2 separate regions of the Homo sapiens genome follow, and region 2 is linked to region 1. Evidence: promoter capture Hi-C in 16 types of primary human blood cells and fetal thymus (Javierre and others, 2016). All regions are on one chromosome and are shown on one strand. The core of a region is centred on a gene start or on the middle of the fragment in contact, and the rest is flanking DNA. Distances in the headings are between cores, read along the strand shown.

Region 1 (3,479 bases), core at 346-2,845:
ACGCCCTCACTTTACACTTCAGTAGGAAGAAGTTGGCTCACTACTAACTACTTGAACAAAAGCAACGACCTAACCTTAATGCAGGTAGTCAGAGGTGGCGGACGTGATTCTCTCCTTCATCCAAGAATAATGGGCCCCACCTGCCTGTCCTGCCTGTCCACTCAGAGTGGCTCTTCTCACGTAGAAGTAAGTGAAGGACCTTGTTCCACTTTGAGAGGCCTAAGAAAGGAGCCTATTCGATGGAAAGGCACGAGTGTGGGAAGCCAGCCTCCCCCAGGTGCAGCCTGCGCCTAGGCAGTATCCTTCCTCCTCTCAGGACCGAGTTTAGGGAAGGCAAGAGGAGGGAGTCAATGTTTTGCCAGGAGCCAATTAACTCAGTTAATTCTAGCACGGGTTCCCTTTTCCCCAAAACAAAAACAAACCGCCACCACCACCTCTGGGCTCTACTCAGCGCCTGGCGGTCACACAAATAATTGTTGTTGAATCCACGGTTACCACCTGCGCCTTCCACTCCCGCACCTGGGACGCGGGGCGCATTTTTAAAGGCGCACTGCCCTCCAGCGGCGCAAGATAAATTCGCCTCGAGGCTTGCTCCCTGACCCCCAAGCCTCAGCCTGACTTCTCCAGTGGCCCCCGGGAAGGTGTGGCCGCCACAGCAGTGTTGGTTTCCCATCAGCGGGAAGCGAGGCTAAAGGTGGGGAGGAGGGAAGTGTAATGGAAGGGAAAGTGATCCAGCCCGAAACCGCAGCTCCCTCATTCTTGTCTGCGGAGCCTCCTAGGCCAAAGATTATGCTTTTTTTCTCTTAGGGTTGTAATTTGGGTAAGAAATTAGTATGATCGAACGGAAATGAACATTCGACGTGATGCTTCCAGGACAGACACGGAGCCACCGCTGCATAGACGTACCCCAGGCGTGCAGCGGAACCGGAGAGGCGGCCTTTACCCTGGGAGGGCTGGCAGCCACGACTTAGACTGGGCGTGTGCGACCTATCTGTCACCCTGTGGGTTCACTCTGTGGGAAACCACAGCAGCACCCATTGCAGCCTTACCCCATGTCAGGCGCTGTCCCGAGGTCCCGCAGAAATTACCCTATTCAATCTTCCCAATCAGTCCCTTTAGTGGTGCCATTATCATCCCACTGTGAGGATGGGGAAACCGAGGCTGAGAGAGGCGACGCGACCTGCATGGGGGTCCAGGCCTGTCTGGACCAGAGCTGGAGCTTCCCACGCTGCGCTCGGACCCCGGGCCGCGGGGCCAGGGCGCTGCGGGTGGGGACCCCCGGCGGCGCAGGTGCCCGGAGCCGGCGACAGCGAAAGCGCGGTGGGCGTGGGGTGCTCACCTTGACGATGAGAGGGTTCTGAAACATGGAGTCCCGCACGACCCCCAGCCGCTCGTTCTCCATGCCGGAACGGATGTCCGCCACGGTCAGGGGCCGCCGCGGGGGCGGGCAGACCTGGCTGACCGTGCGGCGCACAGGCTGCTGCTGCTTCCTCCATCGCGTGAGGTCCGGGCCGGAGCTCCTGGCCTCTGGCATCCTTGAGGTCGCCGGGGAGCCGGCCCGCGGGCTGGTTTGGGCGCGCTTCCCCACGTCGGGCACAGCCTGGAGCTCCGAAGGGCCTGCCGGGCGGCCCGGGCCGCACCACCGGGATCCTGAGGGGGAAACTCAGATGCCAGGACCCCTCCGGAGCCAGGCGCGCCCCGCTCGCGCCGGCCCCTCATCGCAAAGAGCCCCGGAGCAATGCAGGAGCCCCGCGGGATCCTCAGGGCGTCTCCTGGGCCCCGCGTTGCAGACTGGGAGAGGAAAGAAAACCAAGACCACCCCTGGAGGACGAATGCAACGGCCCGTCTCCTTGGCGACGGGACGCCAACAGAGCCCGGCTCGGCTTGTACTTTTCTTTCAAGAAACTCTTGGTGGCTACCAGTGTGGACTTGTTTGGAGTTTTCCTGAATCGATACAGGAGAACCGAGAATCTCCAGTGGGTTGCGTTCAAAGCGGCGTGGCTCATAGAGGGTCATTTACATTTGTCTTCCAAGTCGAAGACTCCATCCTCTGCTCACCCCCATTCCACTCACAACCCCTCCCCACCTCTGCTCTTTGCGCCACACACACACCTGAGACAGAGCACTAAATGCATTCCAAGCCTGATGCTGATGCTGACCCACTGGGAGGACTCGGGCAAGTCACCCTCTTGGATCCTAAGGGCTTTTTTTCTTTTTTTCCTGTGAGATGGGTGACAAGGAAACGCTAGAGTTGGATTACATCAATGGTTCCCAAATTTAAGCAACAGAATGAAGGGAAATTGAAAAATACAGATTTGGGCTGGGCTTGGCTGCTCACCCATGTAATCCCATTGCTTTGGGAAGCCTAGGAGGGAGGATGGCCTGAGCCCAGGAGTTTGAGACCAGCATGGGCAACATGGTGAGGTCTCATCTCTACCAAAAATTAAAAAAATTACCCAGGTGTGCTGGCACACACCTGTGGTCCCAGCTATGGGGGAGGCTGAGGCAGGAGGATCACTTGAGGAGGTTGAGACTACAATGAGCCGTGTTTCGGCAACTACATTCCAGTCTGGATGACAGAATGAGACCATGTGCCAAAAAAAGAAAAACGAAGATTCACAGGACTCACCCCAGACTCACTAAATCAGAATATCTGGAAATGGCATCTGAGGCTCTCCTTTTTTTTTTTTTTTTAAGAGACGGAGTCTTGCTCTGATAATGACATGAGCCACCTCACCAGGCCAGATGCTGCATTTTTAAAAATCCCCTTACCCACCCACCCACAACTTGGTGAAAAAGTTCAAACCTACAGAAAAGTTGAAAGTCGAAAGAAGAATACAATGAAAATACATATAGGCTTCACCTAGATTCGGTTAGATTTTGAAGGGAAGGGGAGGGTTAAAGAAAGAGTGGCGGCTCTACAGCAAATTCAGGCTTTATGTCCAGCATGAGACCTACAGAGGTGGGAGACCAGCTTAATGCCAGTGCCTACCGCTGCTTACAGGCTGGAGAAATTATAGGCCTGGGCGGGGAGGGGCCCGGTGGGTATGGCCTGCTGCCCGGGAAGATGTTGATAAGGTATTCCCATGATGAGGCAGTTTGGCCCTTGTTCTGGTGGAACGTGATGTTCCTGTCACTTTCTCCCAGCAGAATATGATAAGAGGCAGGCTGTTTCTCACTGCCTGAACCCCCGTGGAATGTTTCACTTTAAGCAAGGTCTGCAAAATGGCAGGGGGCTTACAAAATGGTGCAGTTTGGACTAACAGATTCACCCGTCCCCAGCACTGGTCACATTTTCTTGCTCTCTCTCTGTGAGCATGCACATACACACATTACAGAATCACCTGAAAAATATCTGTCAACACCATATTTAACCCTAAGTACGTCATCATGTAGCAAGGACATTCCCATGTGTAACTACAATGTCATTATCATGTCCGAAGATTTTAATGTGATACAATAGTGTTTAATATAAAATC
Region 2 (3,619 bases), core at 493-2,992, 360 kb before region 1:
GTCAGAACATGCTAGATGGATGGAGACCCAGTACTCTCCAGCTTACCTTCATTCTGCCTTCACATTTCAATCAAGTGACACCTTGGGGTTTGTTTCTTTACAAGAGGCGCCCTTTCAGTCCATGAAGGACCCCTTAATGGCCTTATTGAGAGCCTGTGGTAGGGGCTTAAGCATATAAAGATGGAGGATTGTACGATCCAGGGAAGGCGACACATTTTCATAAACAGAATCTCGTAAAAACATCCAGAGAGGGCTGCCATGTGCATGATTCCTGGCCCGTTCTGTTGACAGGGACATAATTCTCACAGTGTAAGCCTGACCACCATCTGCCATAGCACTTTCCTCCATAGTCTCTTGTCTCCTGTGGGCAGGAGGGCCAGGCCCTGGGCTGTGCACCTGGCCTACCTCTTCCCTCCTAGTCCTTCCAGCAAGACCAGGAAAGGGTGCATCACCCGAACCTTTCAGCTGAGGAAACTGAGGCTCCAAGAGGCTGAGTGTCTTGCCCTCATCACACAGCACATCATGGCAGTGGAGACGGACTCGGACTGAGACGGAGTCCCTGGACTCCTGTGCTCTGAGCCGCTGAGCGCAGAGTCTTCAGGTCACCCTGGCACTAAGTCCACACCTGCCCTGCTGGCTTCCCAGAGGCCTCCTGAGGCCCCCTGCTCAGCCAGACCCTCCCATCTCCTGTGCTGCGTTTGCCGAGGCCACCAGCTGCTCCCTCCCCACTGAGATGAGATGGGGGAAGCATCTCCCTGACTGGGGAGGCCCACACCGCTGGGCCTGAGAGAAGGTGTAACCCCATGCCAGGGGGTCTGCCGTGCACTCAGCAGCTGCTTCCAGAGCCCACTGGGTTCCTGGATCCAGGGGAGGGGGAATGGGGGTCAACAGGGAGCAAGACCGCCCCACACTGCGCCCCAGGGCTCCCCTTGAAGGGGCCGACCCATCCCGCTCTTCCCTGCCTTGTCCCGGTCTCGATCTCGGCCCAGCCCGCTGCCCACCGCGCTGCCCCAGGTCTCTGTTGAAATGGGACCGGCTTCCCAGCCAATTCAATCCCGGAAGTCACCACTGACCCTCACGCGGGCTGCTCAGGTTACAGCCAGGGGCAGGGCGCGCGTGCAGGGCGAGGGGCATCCCCCGCGCTCCCAGCCCGCTCCTCCACAGGGTGTCCCCTCGCCCCTGCCCCACCCCCTACCCCAGCCAGCGTTCTGGGCTCTTTATTCATTCCGAGATTCATAGCCATGAAAGTCAAACCCAGAGGCCCCTGGACGCCATCGAGCGCGGTCCTCATGGCACTGAGGAAGCAGCAGAGGCCCAGGGAAGCTGAGCGCGCCGAGGGGTGGCCCTTGGCGCGGGGCTGGGCCTCCGGGCCCGGGCTGGCGGGGCTGCTGTTTGTTTCCGCTTTCACTTTTAAATGCCACGTTGTCTGCATCCCAGGACCCAGGCAAGGGGCACGAGTGTGACCCCCCCAGGCCTTCCCCTGGTTCCGTTTCCCTCCCTAGCCCGGTCCCCACGATGGGTGGGGACAGTGGGCTGTGACAATGGATCGCGACTGCTGTTTTTACCTGGCGGACGATGCGCCCGAATTCGCTTTAACCAGATGCCCCTCTTCGCCTGGAGCCCTGGGAGCAGTCCCCCTCTCCGCTCAACAATAATTAGCCTTGTAAGACTAATGGAGGAAATCGTGTCTAATTACCCTGTTGAAGACCCAATTATGCGATTAACATTCGTGGCTATAAGCTAATGATGAGAAGAGCCTCTCATTTGCATAGCATTAAGTTAATTGCTGGCAAGCGGAGGGGCGGACAAGGCGGTGATGGCAGGATTCTCTTTCTGAAAGGATACTAATGACCAGAGAGGACGAGCCACCTGACAGCTTTATTAATTAACAGCGATCTGATTACCTACCAGGAATGGCAAGTGGCCTCGCTGAAAGTCTCGGCTCTTTGAGAAATGAGAGATGGGAGCCCTCACTGCCGATGTTTCTTCCACACGCTTTGCTGGGTTAGAGGCAAGCTCATGACCGCCTTGAAAAGCCATTTTAGACAAATCTTCCTTTGCATTCTTGCTGGAGCCCTTCTCTTATGCCCTTCCTTGGACATTTGCTCTTTCACTCCCTCCCCCATGCACTCACCCCACCCATAGTGACTGCGCTCCTCCTGCCTGCGACGCTGGCAACAGGCAGCACAGTCTAAGGTCCCTCCCGGGAAAGTGTTCAGAGAGGGTTCCATTCTGGGAGAGGCCCCCACTTTCCCCAGAGGTTTCAGATTCGAGTCAACCTTGCTGCTGGCAAATGTCAGCAGAGAATTTCAGAGCTTGAAGAATCCTTAGAGAGCATCAGTTCGAGTCTCTTACCCGGAAAAAACTGGGGGGCCCGGAGAGGCTAAGGGTCTGGAGCTCAAGATGCCCGCCAGGCAGTGGCAGGGCAGGGTGGTGCCTGGACTGTGCAGGACGGCTCTGTCTCTTCAGCCTCTCTGTCATCCCCGTCAGGCCCACTGTATTTGGAGATTTCGACGTTGCCTTGGGAACCCCTGCCCCTCCCCACAGTGCCCGCCCAGCCCCCTCCCATTTCCCCTCCTAGCACTTACTTGCCCCTGGCCCTCCTCCCAGCCTGTTTCCCCCCATGCGGGCAGGAACTGTATTGCACTCACTCTAATAAATAGATGATTGGACCAATTAAGGAAGCCTTGCAGTGGTGTGGCTGGGACTCATCTTCCAGTGGGTTTTAAAACATGGAGATTTTTAACGACAAATAAAATCTTGCATATATCCTTCTGTAACTTGCTTTTTCACTTAATAAAATATTATGGACATCTTTCCCTATCACTGCATAAAGATACAGCTCACTAGGTGTTTGCATAGCATGAGACTGTCCAGATGTATTATAATGTATTTAAATACCCTCTGTTAGCAGACATGTGTTTCCTGTTTTTTCTATTACAATGCAACAACTAGCATTCATATATATACACACACATATGCATTTGTATTTGTTTTTGCATATGTTTTGATCATTTCCTTGGGGAAAATTCATAGAAATGGAATTGCTGATCCAAAAGGCATAAACAATTAAAAAGTTGGCCGGCACGGTGGCTCACGCCTGTAATCCCAGCACTTGGGGAGGCTGAGGTGGGCAGATCACCTGAGGTCAGTAGTTTGAGATCAGCCTGACAAACATGGAGAAACCCCGTCTCTACTAAAAATACAAAATTAGCTGGGCATGGTGGCGCATGCCTGTAATCCCAGCTACTTGGGAGACTGAGGCAGGAGCATCACTTGAACCCAGGAGGCGGAGGTTGCAATGAGCTGAGATGGCGCCATTGCACTTCAGCCTGGGCAACAAGAGCGAAACTCCGTCTCAAAAAAAAAAAAAAATTAAAAAGTTAATGATTTTGATTTTTTATTGGTAGATAATAATGGTACATATTCATGAGGGTACATGTGATATTTCGGTACATGCATATAACGTGCGATGATCATGTTAGGATATTTAAGATGTCCGTCACCTTAAACATCTATCATTTCTTTATTTTGGGAACATTTCAAATCTCTTCTGGCTATTTTGAAATATGCAATAAATTATTGTTAACCATAGTCCCCCTACTGTGCTATCAAACAC

The links. Contacts are between HindIII fragments. The CHiCAGO score rates a contact against its expected background, and 5 or more counts as called.
Region 2: a contact is called between a fragment that was not itself captured here and the fragment with the promoter of CFAP77 in region 1, in 3 of 17 cell types (activated CD4 T cells, naive CD4 T cells and naive CD8 T cells). The highest score is 5.9, in activated CD4 T cells.

What each region holds. Positions count from the first base shown.
Region 1 is chr9:132,408,327-132,411,805 of GRCh38, reverse strand. CFAP77 (cilia and flagella associated protein 77) reads right to left here and starts at 1,595. Exons shown (of 6, transcript NM_001282957.2): 1 at 1,340-1,595. The coding sequence starts at 1,534. LOC105376304 (a long non-coding RNA gene) reads right to left here and starts at 1,165. Exons shown (of 3, transcript XR_930405.2): 1 at 75-1,165. RefSeq lists a silencer at 438-487. The HindIII fragment of the contact is 3,866 bases long and covers 1-3,479 here.
Region 2 is chr9:132,768,026-132,771,644 of GRCh38, reverse strand. All of the region lies in intron 11 of AK8 (adenylate kinase 8), which reads left to right. Among named protein-coding and RNA genes, the nearest start is that of GTF3C4, 99 kb to the right of the region's middle. RefSeq lists a silencer at 1,044-1,343 and enhancers at 1,209-1,503, 1,614-1,673. The HindIII fragment of the contact is 5,506 bases long and covers 1-3,619 here.